Regions from separate parts of the Homo sapiens genome. Here all the other regions are linked to region 2. The links are contacts of gene promoters, found by promoter capture Hi-C in blood cells and fetal thymus (Javierre and others, 2016). All regions are on one chromosome and are shown on one strand. The core of a region is centred on a gene start or on the middle of the fragment in contact, and the rest is flanking DNA. Distances in the headings are between cores, read along the strand shown. Region 1 overlaps AGBL5 (AGBL carboxypeptidase 5). Region 2 holds the start of GTF3C2-AS1 (GTF3C2 antisense RNA 1). Region 3 holds the start of TMEM214 (transmembrane protein 214). Region 4 overlaps DPYSL5 (dihydropyrimidinase like 5).

The links. The method cuts DNA at HindIII sites, captures the fragments that hold promoters and counts their contacts. A CHiCAGO score of 5 or more calls a contact.
Region 1: a fragment that was not itself captured here is called in contact with the fragment with the promoter of GTF3C2-AS1 in region 2 in 1 of 17 cell types (naive B cells); the score reaches 5.0 in naive B cells.
Region 3: a contact is called between the fragment with the promoter of TMEM214 here and the fragment with the promoter of GTF3C2-AS1 in region 2, in 5 of 17 cell types (naive B cells, non-activated CD4 T cells, total B cells and 2 more). The highest score is 7.2, in naive B cells.
Region 4: a contact is called between a fragment that was not itself captured here and the fragment with the promoter of GTF3C2-AS1 in region 2, in 1 of 17 cell types (naive B cells). The highest score is 5.0, in naive B cells.

What each region holds. Positions count from the first base shown.
Region 1 is chr2:27,054,541-27,058,092 of GRCh38, forward strand. AGBL5 (AGBL carboxypeptidase 5) reads left to right here. Exons shown (of 15, transcript NM_021831.6): 5 at 90-267; 6 at 535-713; 7 at 1,142-1,598; 8 at 2,083-2,252; 9 at 2,763-2,898. Among named protein-coding and RNA genes, the nearest start is that of AGBL5, 4.6 kb to the left of the region's middle. The HindIII fragment of the contact is 155 bases long and covers 1,732-1,886 here.
Region 2 is chr2:27,334,264-27,337,382 of GRCh38, forward strand. GTF3C2-AS1 (GTF3C2 antisense RNA 1) reads left to right here and starts at 1,279. Exons shown (of 4, transcript NR_038427.1): 1 at 1,279-1,457; 2 at 2,029-2,207; 3 at 2,948-3,063. It overlaps GTF3C2 (general transcription factor IIIC subunit 2), which reads right to left. Exons shown (of 19, transcript NM_001035521.3): 7 at 2,981-3,079; 8 at 1,935-2,162; 9 at 1,654-1,765; 10 at 1,335-1,443. The HindIII fragment of the contact is 18,359 bases long and covers 1-3,119 here.
Region 3 is chr2:27,031,355-27,034,798 of GRCh38, forward strand. It overlaps TMEM214 (transmembrane protein 214), which reads left to right and starts at 1,611. Exons shown (of 17, transcript NM_017727.5): 1 at 1,611-1,812; 2 at 2,713-2,912. The coding sequence starts at 1,662. RefSeq lists an enhancer at 1,234-1,523. The HindIII fragment of the contact is 3,121 bases long and covers 1-2,386 here.
Region 4 is chr2:26,949,301-26,952,809 of GRCh38, forward strand. DPYSL5 (dihydropyrimidinase like 5) reads left to right here. Exons shown (of 13, transcript NM_020134.4): 13 at 1-1,051. LOC124905979 (a long non-coding RNA gene) reads right to left here. Exons shown (of 3, transcript XR_007086251.1): 3 at 1,215-1,281. Among named protein-coding and RNA genes, the nearest start is that of MAPRE3, 20 kb to the right of the region's middle. RefSeq lists an enhancer at 269-769. The HindIII fragment of the contact is 3,029 bases long and covers 303-3,331 here.

The DNA.
Region 1 (3,552 bases), core at 559-3,058, 280 kb before region 2:
AGATTTTACAGATCCTGGGCTGGTGACAAGGCCTACCTCTTACTAGGACTTTAGGGACTTCTCCTGGCTTAATTTTTTTTTCCCTGTAGCCCCCTGGATACCATCTATTACCATCGGGAGCTCCTTTGCTATTCTCTGGATGGACTTCGTGTAGATCTGCTGACGATCACTTCCTGCCATGGGCTTCGAGAAGATCGAGAGCCCCGTCTAGAGCAGCTATTTCCTGATACCAGCACCCCTCGACCATTCCGTTTCGCAGGCAAGAGGGTGAGTGGAAATAGCATAAAGGTAGTTCTTTGGCTTTTCTCTAGCACCAGGTACTGTTTATAGCTAAAGACTATGTTATCTCTAGGCATCTTGGACATGGCCTCCGCCCGCAGCGTGCGGCAAGGGTGATGGCCCCTGCTCCACTTGCAGATTCAGCCAGCTGGAAATCCAGCGGCTATTCCTGCCTCATCCATGACACCCCCCATATACTGTCAAAGTAGAACTACAGGGTAACTGACTTAATGTCTGCTCTCCTCTCTACCTCAGATATTCTTCTTAAGCAGTAGAGTACACCCAGGGGAGACTCCATCTAGCTTTGTCTTCAATGGCTTTCTGGACTTCATCCTCCGACCTGATGATCCCCGGGCCCAAACCCTCCGTCGCCTCTTCGTCTTTAAGCTGATTCCCATGTTGAACCCCGATGGTGTGGTCCGGGGACACTACCGGTAAGTGGCTTCCCCAGCCTGTCTGGACTGTTCCCATTTCCCCTCATGCCCTGCATCTCAGTGAAATTCTGTCAGCCTTCTGGCTTCTGTGTTCCCAGTCCTCTTGCACCCTAATAAAGGCAAGCCCATCTCATCTTCCTGAGAAAGCATGAGATCATATCTAGTGGCACTCCCAGAAAGGAACCAAACTAGGATGACTGCAGGCCCATCTGGGTGGAGGCAGCTACCCTGAGGAAGCTCCTTAGGGTTCTATGGTAAGGGTGACAGCAGATCAAAGAGAGGCCCTGTCTTCAATTCTTTCTTTCCTAACATAGCTTCAGCCTCTCATTTGATAAGTCAGTCTCCTACGGTCTCCTTTTCATCTACACTAGTGTCTCCTTCACTGGCCCAGTCCTCTAGAACCTGCTTCAGTCCTTGTTTTCCTACAGCACAGACTCACGTGGAGTGAATCTGAACCGTCAGTACCTGAAGCCTGATGCCGTCCTGCACCCGGCCATCTATGGGGCCAAAGCTGTGCTTCTCTACCACCATGTGCACTCTCGTCTGAACTCCCAGAGTTCCTCTGAGCACCAGCCCAGTTCCTGTCTCCCTCCTGATGCTCCTGTTTCTGACCTGGAGAAAGCCAACAATCTCCAAAATGAAGCTCAGTGTGGGCACTCAGCTGACAGGCATAACGCTGAAGCCTGGAAACAAACAGAGCCAGCAGAACAGAAGCTCAACAGTGTGTGGATTATGCCACAACAGTCTGCGGGGCTTGAAGAGTCAGCCCCTGATACCATCCCCCCCAAAGAGAGTGGCGTTGCTTACTATGTGGACCTGCATGGACATGCTTCCAAAAGGGGCTGCTTCATGTACGGAAACAGCTTTAGTGATGAGAGCACCCAGGTGGGAATCCTAAGAATGTCATGTGAGTGTGAGAAGTGTTACAGGTTAGGAGATGGGGTTAGGCCATGAACAGAAGGAAGATAGCCTTAGGTAGCTTTCTGGAAGGAAGGCCTGTGTAGACTACCTCTGAAAAAGCTTTGAAGGGCCAAGAAGAGATGGCACAGGGGGATAATGTCTCAATTGTTACATCATGACCTTTTATTAAGGAAAGCTAACTGCATTATAGTCTGCTAGAGTCTGGGAATCCAGAGAAGGAAAATTTTGCATTGTTGGAGGGAGGAAGCTAAAAGCTTAAAAAAAAAAGAATTGCTTCCCAACACCTAGAAGTAATGTCAAACTGAGAATTCAGGCAGCACTGATTACTGTTAATGGTTGTGATGGTATCTGCTGTGTATTAAGTCACATGGTCACATACTTGCTATCTCTTCCTTGCACCTTGTCCCTTCTGTCTCTCCTTCTGAGTTGACTTTTCTTCCCCAAACAGGTGGAAAACATGCTATATCCAAAGCTCATCTCCTTGAATTCAGCCCACTTCGACTTCCAGGGCTGCAATTTCTCAGAGAAGAATATGTATGCCCGAGACCGTAGAGATGGCCAGTCTAAAGAGGGAAGCGGCCGTGTTGCAATCTACAAAGCCTCAGGGATAATCCACAGGTTGGGTGGAAGCTGAGATATAGTTGATGAAATAGCTTCCCTAAAGAAAACACCGTAGCTGGGTGTGGTGGTGCATGCTTGTAATCCCAGCTACTGAGGAGGCTGAGGCAGGAGAATCGCTTGAACCTGGGAGGCAGAGGTTGTGGCGAGCCGAGATCGTGCCATTGCACTCCAGCCTGGGCAACAAGAGCGAAACTCCGTCTCAAAAAAAAAACAAAAAACAACACCCAGTTCAGGGTGTTTGAGAGGGAGGGAACCACCTTAGTCTTCTTAAAAGAGAACCTCACAATTAGCATTATTGTCTTTAGTCTAGGACTCTACCTTGGGGGGACTCTCTGGGTATATGGTACAGTACCAAGGTCAGCTGCTAGTTGCTATGGATTATTAGCACTTTCATTTGTGTTCACTTTTTTCCAAGTGATTGCCTCCTTTGACCACCTAAGTTGTCCTCTATGGTTCTGTCCTGGTATCTGTTCAGGCGGGACACTGATAAAGGTCTTTATGTCTTAGCTACACACTTGAATGCAACTACAACACTGGACGCTCAGTAAACAGCATCCCTGCTGCCTGCCATGACAATGGGCGTGCCAGCCCCCCTCCCCCGCCGGCTTTCCCCTCCAGATACACTGTGGAACTATTTGAGCAGGTATGAATACATGGTGTAAGTGGGAAAAGGGAGAAACCTTACAGTCTGGAAAGGCCTTCACTCTTAGTGCCTGACTCTAAGGTCCTTTGAAGAGATATTCATCACTATGGCCGTCTCACCACTATGATTATTTTCCTCAGTTAACAGGAGCATAACTACAACTGTAATAGTATTGAAAGGATGAACAGGCACTATATCTGACCCCACATCACAGAGAATCCCCTAGCACCTCTGAGTCAGATTCTTTGCCTCTGGGCTTGTCTTTCTCATTCTATTGGATTTATTAGTTTCTGGGCTCAAAAGCACCCTGACTGTAGTGGTCTTGATGATTCCCATTATCCTAATAGAAAGAGCTGGCCAGGTGCGGTGGCTCATGCCTATAATCCCAGCACTTTGGGAGGCCAAGGCAGGCGGATCACCTGAGGTCAGGAGTTCAAGACCAGCCTGGCCAATATGGTGAAACCCCATCTCTACTAAAAATACAAAAATTAACTGGGCATAGTGGCACATGCCTATAGTCCCAGCTGCTCAGGAGGCTGAGGCAGGAGAATCACTTGAACCCGGGAGGCAGAGGTTGCAGTCAGCCGAGATCACACGCCACTGTACTACAGCCTGGGCAATAGATCAAGATGCCGTCTCAAAAAAAAAAAAAAG
Region 2 (3,119 bases), core at 29-2,528:
TCCTTTGAATAATGACATTCCCTTATCCTTTATTGAGAAAGTCCTTATCTTTTCATCACCAAATTTATGAACCTACCTCTATCTGTTCCCATCTTCTTTCCTTCTGTTACACCTGATAGTATCCTTCCTCCTATCAGAAGAGCAATCCCTTCACTCTACTCTCTTCTCATCCTCTAGCACCTTTTCCAGAACACTGCTCATTCTGTTATCCTCCTTCCTCCTGTGTCATCCACTTGTTCCCTCCCTAGTCTAGGTCACTCCCATATTGCTATGTGAACATGCCCTAATGTCTCCTATCCAAATAAAGGGACAAAACCTTCCTTTATTGACCACACTTAGGCAATCCACCACCCTCAATTACTGGTTCCCCTTCACAGCGAAATTTTTTTTTTTTTTTCAGACAGCATCTCACTAAGCCGCCCAGGCTACAGTGCAGTGGCACAATCTCAGTTCACTGCAGCCTCAACCTCCTGGGCATAAGTGATCCTCCCACCTCAGCCTCCCAAGTAGCTGGGATTACAGGCATGCACCACTATGTTCGGCTACTTTTAAAAATTTTTTTGTCGAGACGACATCTCATTATATTGCCCCAGCTGGTCTCAAACTCCTAGGCTCAAGCAATCCTCCCACCTAGGCCTCGCAAAGTACTGGAATTAAGGCATGGACCACCATGCCCAGCCCCACAGCCAAACTTCTTGAAAGAATGGTCTATATTTACTATCTTTACTTTCTGACCTTCTATTACCTCCTCAACCCACTCCACCAGACCACCACATATGGGACTTCCCAGGGCTCCAGCCTGGGTGCCCTCTTCTTTAAATACTCAGTACTAATGAAAAATAAATTCAACATATAGGAGCTGCCTTTTCCTGACTCCTCCCTCCTTTTGCTCATCTTCAGCTCTCTATTCCATCCCTCTCTTCAGCAGAACAAGAGATTGTGTTTGTGTGGTGGTGAGGGCAGGAGAGGCTAAGAACAGGATTGGGGGAACAAGAGTATAGCAGGGGAGATGGGCCCTATCTATCAGCCCAAGCCCTCAGCAGCTCTTTACACAGCCAGTTACCTGTGGCAGCAAGAGGGGGAAAGTCTTGAGAGCACAGAAGAGGGAAGAAGGGGGAGATAAAAGGAAATGTGCTGAAAGAGTACAGCTGTAAGACTGCAAAAGAGAGAGGGCTCAAGAACAAACCTGAGTCACAATGCAGGGTGTGTGTGTGGCTGAGTAAGGCTTTGTGCTAAGAGAGACTGGCCCAGAGGAGTTTCCAGGGAGACAGACAGGCCCTGCTATGCTGTGACCACCACTACAGCAGCCCCATTCTCCTTGCTGTGCTACTCACCTGGGGGTTGCTGAGCCAGCAGGGCCTCCGGATGGGGTAGACTGAATAGCAGTACTTTCCCGTCTGAGCAGGCCAGAGCCAAGAGACCCAACCGGGGCAGGAGAGGAGCCTAAAGGGTAAAAGGTATGCTGAGGCTTGCTGCCTTCAGCTGACTCACAGAAAACCTTTGAGGTTCTAGTCCCTGAAATACTGTATGAAGTTGCTGGAAAAACTCCATCCACTACACTCCAACCTTCGTTCCTTCAACTCTAAGAATTCCCAGGGCCTCTTTGTCCTGGCTTTGAGTCCTAGGGCCATCCCACAGTTGACTGGGAAGTACCTTCCGAGGGGTGCCTGGAAGTTCCCATGCTCCACTGGGGCAGAACTTGAGGTCCCAGATGCAGCCGTTGTCACAAGCAATCCCATAGACAAAGTGGGCCCTGTTGCCAGGACTGGAGAGAGAGAGCATGTGGGGATGGTGGGTAGGAAGAAGGGACGCAGGGCTGCCAGAGGTAAGCTCCCCTTGTCTCAGCCCAATCCAAGCCCTTCCCCCTATCCTGTCCAGACCCCATCCTGCTGTCCTCAACCACCCTCCCATGGCAGTGTCCAACCCCACCTCACCAGCTTTCTTGCTGCAAGGTCCCAAGGCCCCAGAGCTGGAGCAGCCCAGGACCCGAATGAAGCTGGCTCAGTGGGTGTGTCTCATTCATGTCAGGGCTGGAGAAAAGAGCCACATATTGCGAGGCTCCTGCCCCCTCTGGCACTGGGCACCAGTCCAGAGCCCAGAGCGGTCCCCCCGTGAAGAAGGACACATCCCAGCGCTCTGGATGTGCTGTGATCGAGCTAAATCTAGAGAAAAATCAAAGATGGGATGAAGAAAGGAATTAATGAAAGGTAATGAGGACTGAATGGGCGCTCCACCCAGAGCCAGTATGAACTGGCTCAAGCAAGAGCCTGAATATCAAAAACAGTTTACAAGTGAGAACAGAGTCCTTGGCTTCCACTTGTATCTTCCTCCTTTCCTTCCCAAAGTCTGTCTTATATTATTATTATTTGAGATGGGGTCTGTCACCCAGGATGGAGTGCAGTGGCATGATCGACGGTTCACTGCAGCCGTGACCTCCCAGGCTCAAGTGGTTATCCCACCTCAGCCTCTGGAGTAGCTGGGACTACAGGCATATGCCACCATACCCCACTAATTTTTAAATTCTTTGTAGAGATAGGGGTCTTGCTATGTTTCCTAGGCTGGTCTTGAACTCGTGGGCTCAAGTAATCCTCCCTTTTTGGCCTCCCAAAGTGCTGAGATTACAGGTGTGAGCCACCACACCCGGCCTCCAAAGTCTGTCTAACTCCAGCTCATCTTCAGGGCTGTTCATTCTGGCATACTATAGTAGTCTCCCTAAGGCTAGTCTGTCCAGGTCTATCTGAGTAGATGTAACCTTGTGAACTGCTTTGGCCCCTAAATCTCTCTAGCTTCCCTCAGCCTGCCAGTAATGAACACTACAAATCAGAGAGGACTGACCAGCTCTAGTCAGCACTCTTATTCTTGGGACCAACTGAACCAGCATCAGGGGAAGGACAGGACTTATCTGTCATCTCTTTCAACATTCATTTTTCTTGTTTCTGGCTCCTAGAATCAGAAAAAAGGGCGGATGTGCAATCTTCACCTGTTTATTCGGTAGAGGGTGCCATCTTCAGGTAGCCCTTCACGTTGTACAGAAAACAATGGAGACTTCTCCTCCTGGGGCAGGTAGGGAGCGGCCTCACTGGGGGAAGACAAAGGGAACAGTCTAAATTTGGAAGTGT
Region 3 (3,444 bases), core at 361-2,860, 300 kb before region 2:
TGCTATTTCTCAGAACCTATCTCAGCTGCCGTCTCCTTCGGGAAGCTAAACTCCTTCCTAAGGAATGCATCGCTCCCTCAGCTGTTCATCCTGTAGGAATTTGGACTCTCTTAGTTCTTATCATAATACCTCAGTATGGCAGGTAGGAATCTCATCCTCACACACAGTTGTACATGAAATAGCACATTTCCTTAATTGTGATAAGTCACTTTGATTTTATCTTCCCTCATTCTCCTCTGCTGGCATGCTTCAAGGTTCTGAAGGCTCCCAGGATACTAACACCCTCCACGTGGATGTCTGAGCAGGAACCTGTCTGCAGATGCCTCAAGTCTGGGGCTCTCCATCGCTTCCCTGACACATCTGGAACTTGGGATTGACTCTTATGGTGGGAGGCAGAGCCTGTTCTTTCTCATTGCCTGGAAGGGGAAACCCGGCCCTGGCTGTCCCAGACCCCCAGACTTTTCTCAGCCTCCCATGAGAAGAACTCAGAGGCCAGGAGCGGTGGCTCACTCCTGTAATCCCAGCACTTTGGGAGGCTGAAGAGGGTGGATCACTGAGCCCAGGAGTTTGAGATCAGCCTGGGCAACACAGCAAAACCCAGTCTCTACAAAAAATACCAAAGATTAGCCGGGGGTGGTGGTGGGTCAGGTGATCCGTGGTGGGGGATCACCTGAGCCCTAGAAGTTGAGGCTGCAGTGAGTCGTGATCGCGCCACTGAACTCCAGCCTGGGCGACAAAGCAAGATCCTGTCTCAAAAAAAAAAAAAAAAATTATTCTCCATTCTCCACCTCCTACCCCAGCTCCCCAACACTCTGCCCTTTCCTCAAGCCCCCATCCTCTTCCTTGTTCTTTGGCAATAGATTTGTATAGCCCATTAAACCCGAGGTTTAATCACTAGCAACAGTAAAGCCAGCACTTTCCTAGAAGGAAGGAAGCATTTAATCTTCAATCTCTCCCTAGATATGAGGAGCACTACTTCCCTTCCATCCTTCCAGCTCTACGAGAAAGGAAAGAAAAACAGTGGCCGGGCGCCGTGGCTCACGCCTGTAATCCCAGCACTTTGGGAGGCTGAGGGGTGGGGGTGGGGTGGGTCACTTTAGGTCAGGAGTTCGAGACCAGCCTAGCCAACATGGCGAAACCCCGTCTCTACTAAAAATACAAAAATTAGCTGGGCTTGGCAGCGGGAGCCTGTAGTCCCTGCTACTCGGGACGCTGAGGCACGAGAGTCGCTTGAACCTGGGTGGCGGAAGTTACAGTGAGCTGAGATCGCGCTACTGCACTCCAGTCTGGGCGACAGAGCGCGGCCCTGGCAATCAATCAATCAATTGATCAATAAAGGAAAGAAAAACAGAAACAGTTCTACCAAGTCTCTCAATGCCGTGGCCTTCACATCGACGCTCAATGAACGTTCTCAGAAGGGAATCTCCTCTCCTCCCGGCCTCTTCGCCTGGGCGGGGGCCGCAGGCTGCCGCGGAAGCCTCTTCCCGATGCTCTTCGCTCAGGAGAGCCCGGCCCAGGAGAGGGACTACAAGTCCCAGGCTGCCTTGCGGCGGGCGCCGGGCGCCGGGCGCGCGGTCCTGCGAGGAGACGTGGCAGAGTGCGGCGCGCTCGCGCCGGACCGGAAAGCCGGGGAAGTGGCCGAGGAGGGAGGGCTGCGAGCCATGGCGACCAAGACGGCGGGCGTGGGGCGGTGGGAGGTAGTGAAGAAGGGTCGGCGGCCTGGGGTCGGCGCCGGCGCCGGCGGCCGAGGAGGCGGCAGGAACCGCAGGGCGCTCGGGGAAGCAAACGGAGTGTGGAAATACGACCTGACCCGTGAGTACCCGCCCTGCCCCGCCGCCTACCCCAGGCCTGTCCGGCAGGGTCGCAGCGAGCGGCTCCCAGAACCTGGGCGCGAGCTCGCAGGCACATCCCCGAGCGCCACGCTTGCGTTGTCTCTTTGGAGCCTCACGGGAGGCAGACAGCTCCAGGGAAGGTTGCGGTCCTCACCTCCCAGATGAGTAAACTGAGGCCCAGTGAAGTTGGATACCTTGGCCAGGGTCATGTGTCAGAGGGGCTAGGATTCCGGTCCTCAGACTCTCAGTTCACTGCACACACTCTCCCAGCTGCCCAGGGCCCTAGCTGGTCTCTCTGGGCAGGTGTCTGAGCTTTGAAGAGGTACTGTGGATCATTATACACGGTGCCCCCTCTTTAAGTAACCAGCAGGTCATGGAGGAAGGGACAGGAGGCCCAGCAGTGGGAGAAATGACCGCCACACACTCAACACTCACCAGGAATTATAAGTGACACCTGGTTCTTCCACTGAGGAGTGGAGAAAGATTGCCACTTGTTGATTATAGAGTTGTCATGTCGGAACCAAGAGGCGTTAGGGTAGGACCAAGATGGAAAAAGCTTGTCTTCCCAGACTAGTAGCCACTCACTGAATAAGGCAAACCTCTATATCCAACCTCTCTGCTTGTTCCTACATACTCTGATTTGTCTAATGAAGAACTGCCCCATCTTTATGAAAGAGCCCATAGACTCAAGAGCTGTAATGAAAGAAGCTACCAGGAGAACAGCCTGCCCTGCTCCTTAAGCAGTCCAAGAGGAAGGGGCTTTGAGACAGGCTCTTCCCTGGAGATGAATTAGGTGGCAGTGTGGGGAAAGGGACCACTGATAGGTGAGGCCTTGGGGACTCAAGGGTGGCCTGCCTTTCTCTACCTATCTTCACCCCAGCTGCAATCCAGACCACAAGCACCCTTTATGAGCGGGGCTTTGAGAATATCATGAAGCGGCAGAATAAGGAGCAGGTCCCACCCCCTGCTGTGGAACCTAAGAAACCAGGGAACAAGAAGCAGCCAAAGAAGGTGGCAACTCCTCCCAACCAAAACCAGAAGCAGGGCCGCTTCCGCAGCCTGGAGGAAGCACTGAAAGCTGTGAGTGTGCCTAGACATGAGACGCAGAAAGAATGGGGGCTTGAGATTTAGAGAAGATGAGAGGAGGGGGAGGTGGATGGGCAGCTGAGATCCTATGGGATTTGAAACACTTTAAGGGTTGAGAGGAGTTCAGGAAAAGATGGAAACCCCAGGGGAACAGAATGCCTGCACTTAGAATAGAAAGGAAATGGAAAATTTATAGGGAAACATGGATTGGTAAGAGGAAAGCCTTGAAGACCCAGGAACACCAGGGAGGAGATGGAGAAACTGGTTATGATTCTCTGTCCTATGGAAATACTGATCTTTCATTTTCTGTCTTGTCCTCTGTTTTCCTCTTTTTTTTTTTTTTTTTTTGAGTTAGAGTCTCCCTCTGTCGCCCAGGCTGGTGTGCAGTGGTGTGATCTCAGCTCACTGCAACCTCTGTCTCCTGCCTCAGCCTCCCAAGCAGCTGGGATTACAGGCGTCTGCCACCACGCCTGGCTAATTTTTGTATTTTTAGTAGAGATGGGGTTTCACTACGTTGGCCAGGCTG
Region 4 (3,509 bases), core at 567-3,066, 380 kb before region 2:
CTCACTTCTCCCTTCACTCCCCCTTTCCTCACTCAGGGGCTGAGAGGACAGAGGTGGTCAGCCGGGGAGCAGAGGTGGCGAAGGGGCTCATGGCAAGTGGCAGCCATTGGAACAGGGGTGAGGACCCAGGCCTGGGAAAGCCACCAGGGATGGGGGAAACCATGACGCCGCCTCCTGGTGCAGTGCACACCATCTCTATCCCTGTCAGCCCTCACTGGGTCATGGGCCTTGGGCAGATGTCAAAGAGCCCAGCAGCAGCGGTGGTGGCCAGCTGGGCAGAGCATCCTTGCTTGGGCTAGGAAAGCTTTACCTTCTCTGAGTGCCTCCGCCTGAGAGATGTGTGACCCGTGGCACCAGGGAACCACGTCTTGGAGTGGTCCACTGTAGGCCATGCGCTTCATCCACCCCCAGTCCCTACATAGGCCCTACCCTTGCCCGGGAGCTTCTAGATAGAAATCAGAAAGAGATTCAAGGAGCCAAATGAGCGGTCAGCCCCCACCATGCACTCCTTGCCCCGTGCAGAGCTCCAGCCAGCTTCGTCACCAGCCCCACTGGCTCCTGGTTGGAACGAAAGGGTCTCTGGTTGCACTGAATGCAGCTCTCAAACTGGTCTTGTACTTGCTGAATAAATACTGTTGTTCTTGCCTTAGCTGCTCTCTAGGTTTGTGGGGTTAAGTTGCCAGAAAATTGTGCTACTGTGTGTGCGTGTGCGTGCGTGTGTGTAGTGCTAGGAGTCCACAGTAGGTCTCTGTCAAGCCGATGTCGTGATGAGGGCTTTTCTGATACTGACCCAGAAGCCACAGAACCACAAGGAAACCCAAACCCCCTCCAGCTGCTGAGGCGCAGGCACAGCCTGGGGTCGGATGGAGCCTCCAGCACCCCAGCACCCAGGTGACTTCCCCACTCCCCTGTAAATGTCATGGTGCTAAGACTGTGTCAACCCCAAGACGACACATGGTCCTGTGCTTTGGCCACCGTTTGAGGCAAAAACTAAACAGCCCGACACGTTGTGTTCTGGTGCAGGTTTGTATTAAACTGTAGCTACTTCTCACTTGGACTCTGTTGTGTTTCTTCAAAGAGGAGGGAGTTTGGCAGAGATCTCTTCTACGGTGGCTGGGCAAGGCTTCAGTTGCTAAGAAAAGGCAGCTTTGATCTGTCTCTCCTATTGGGTGGCAGCTCACTGGGAGGCTTGTGCAGAGACTGGATTTTTTTTTTTTTTTAATTCTGAGAGACAGGAGCCCCAGTGGTGCCAGATTTCCAGGGACAAGGTTGCCAAATTATCTGAAATAATTAGGAGGAAGAATTAGATGCAAAAGGGAAAAAAACTAGACTCACTCCATCTACCTATAGTCGCGTATTCTCTTGGCTACCATTTTGGAAGCCCATAGCCACCTCTCCACTCGGCAGAACGTTTGGCTGATGGAACGATGGCCTCATAAAAAAAAAAAATCACAAGACAAAGCGCTGTCCCAAGGCCAATATGCCTTTGAAGGACCTTCCAGCTGCTCTCCGGCTGTCTAGAACCCCGCTTTTGGAGTTGGCCCTCTGTAGTCTCAACCCCATCCATTGCATTGAGACCCCTCTACCTTCCCTCTAGAGCTCAGTCAGATGTTAGGAGGATTATCTGATTAAACTCTTTCACACTAAAGGGTAAAACTGTGGCTTCTAAGGCCGGGTGCTGTGGCTCATGCCTGTGATCCCAGCACTTTGGGAGGCCGAAGCGGGTGGATCACCTAAGGTCAGGAGTTTCAGACCAGCCTGACCAACATGGAGAAACCCCGTCTCTACTAAAAAAAATACAAAATTAGCCAGGTGTGGTGGTGCATGCCTGTAATCCCAGGTACTCAGGAGGCTGAGGCAGGAGAATCGCTTGAACCCGGGAGGCGGAGGTTGCAGTGAGCCAAGATCGCGCCATTACACTCCAGCCTGGGCAACAAGAGTGAAGCTCTGTCTCAAAAAAAATAAAAATAAAAATAAACTGTGGCTTCTAGTACTATGTGGTCACTGTACTTATTTCTTAACATTAAAATTCGAAGGTTGAGATGGATTTGCCAGCTTGAGATGGATGCCGAGTCCCTGCAATGTATTGGGCCAAAGTGTCTGTTACCCTGTTTTCCCACAACAGGAGAGCACACCAGAATTGGGTTAACTGCCAAAAATCCATTGGGTTTGGATGAAAAAAATAATATGACCACACATTTGGCACAAGGCGTCTATCAGGCAGTCTACAGGGAAAAAATAAAAGATACCCAGGAAGACATAGGGTGCCTTTTTATGTATGTAGTTGTAGAAAAATCAAAGACCACAGACTCAGACTTTAAAATAAGGCTTGATCATTTATGAGAATCCGGATTTGGAGAAACCACACCAGTCAGCAGCTAGGCAGCCACCAGCCTCTATTTTCTAACTCAGAATTACAGACTGACCTCTGTACACCGGTAGAGACTAACGCTAAGAATTGCATTGTGGTCGGCCAGTCACAGTGGCTCACGCCTGTAATCCTAGCACTTTGGGAGGCCAAGGCGGGAGGATTGCCTGAGCTCAGGAGTTCAAGACCAGCCTGCGCAACACAGTGAAACCCAGTCTCTATTAAAATACAAAAAATTAGCCGAGCGTGGCGGTGGGATCACACCACTGCACTCCAGCCTGGGCGACAAAGCGAGACTGTCTCAAAAAAAAAAAAAAAATTGCTTTTTAGTCAGTGGAAGACACAGGGTCTCATGACACCCAGGTGTGAAGAAGAAACCTCATGATATGTAGGGGCTGGTAGACCTTAGAGTCCTAAGTTAATAACAGGCTATTTGACAGTGTTGTAACAACAGACATTTGAAAGGGCTCTTAGAGCTTTCCCAGTAGAACAGTAAAGGATCTGGCATTTTGCTGACACTGGGTACTGTCTTATGATGGAAAGTGAGTTCTTTACTTTCCCTTCTGGATTTACAACCATACATTTAGAACTAGAGGGACCAGATGTCTTGGTTTGCTCAGGGCAATCCTGGTTTAAGTCTATTGCCCCAGAATAATTATTAACAGTGTCCACTTTCACTGTCAAACATGTCCTGGTTTGTATAATAAATTACATGGTCACTTTCTGTATACCTATACATTCATTGGGCTATTACTGTGCCTGTCCAGGAGTTAAAAATTTTTCCATTGCTGAAAGACAAGACATGGCATTGTAAGAGATGCGGAAGATGGGTCCTTCCACAGTGGGTGGTGACTTAGGGGTTTGCATGACAAGCCCAGCGTCTTCACACAGCTCTTGGAGGCTTGATGAGTCTCAGTAGCCGGGGATGCCACAGGGTGGGGAAGGCCTGCAAATGCTTTTCTAAGCTTTTTCAGTTTGCCTCGTAGACCTCATTGTTCCATTAGAAGCTGTAACCCTACCAAATTCTATCATTTGCTTTTAAGGTGACTTTGATTCCATTTATGAACTTGAACACCTTACAACATTTTCAACTACATTTAAAATTTGATTTCCCTTTTAAATACCTTTCCTAAGTACCAAA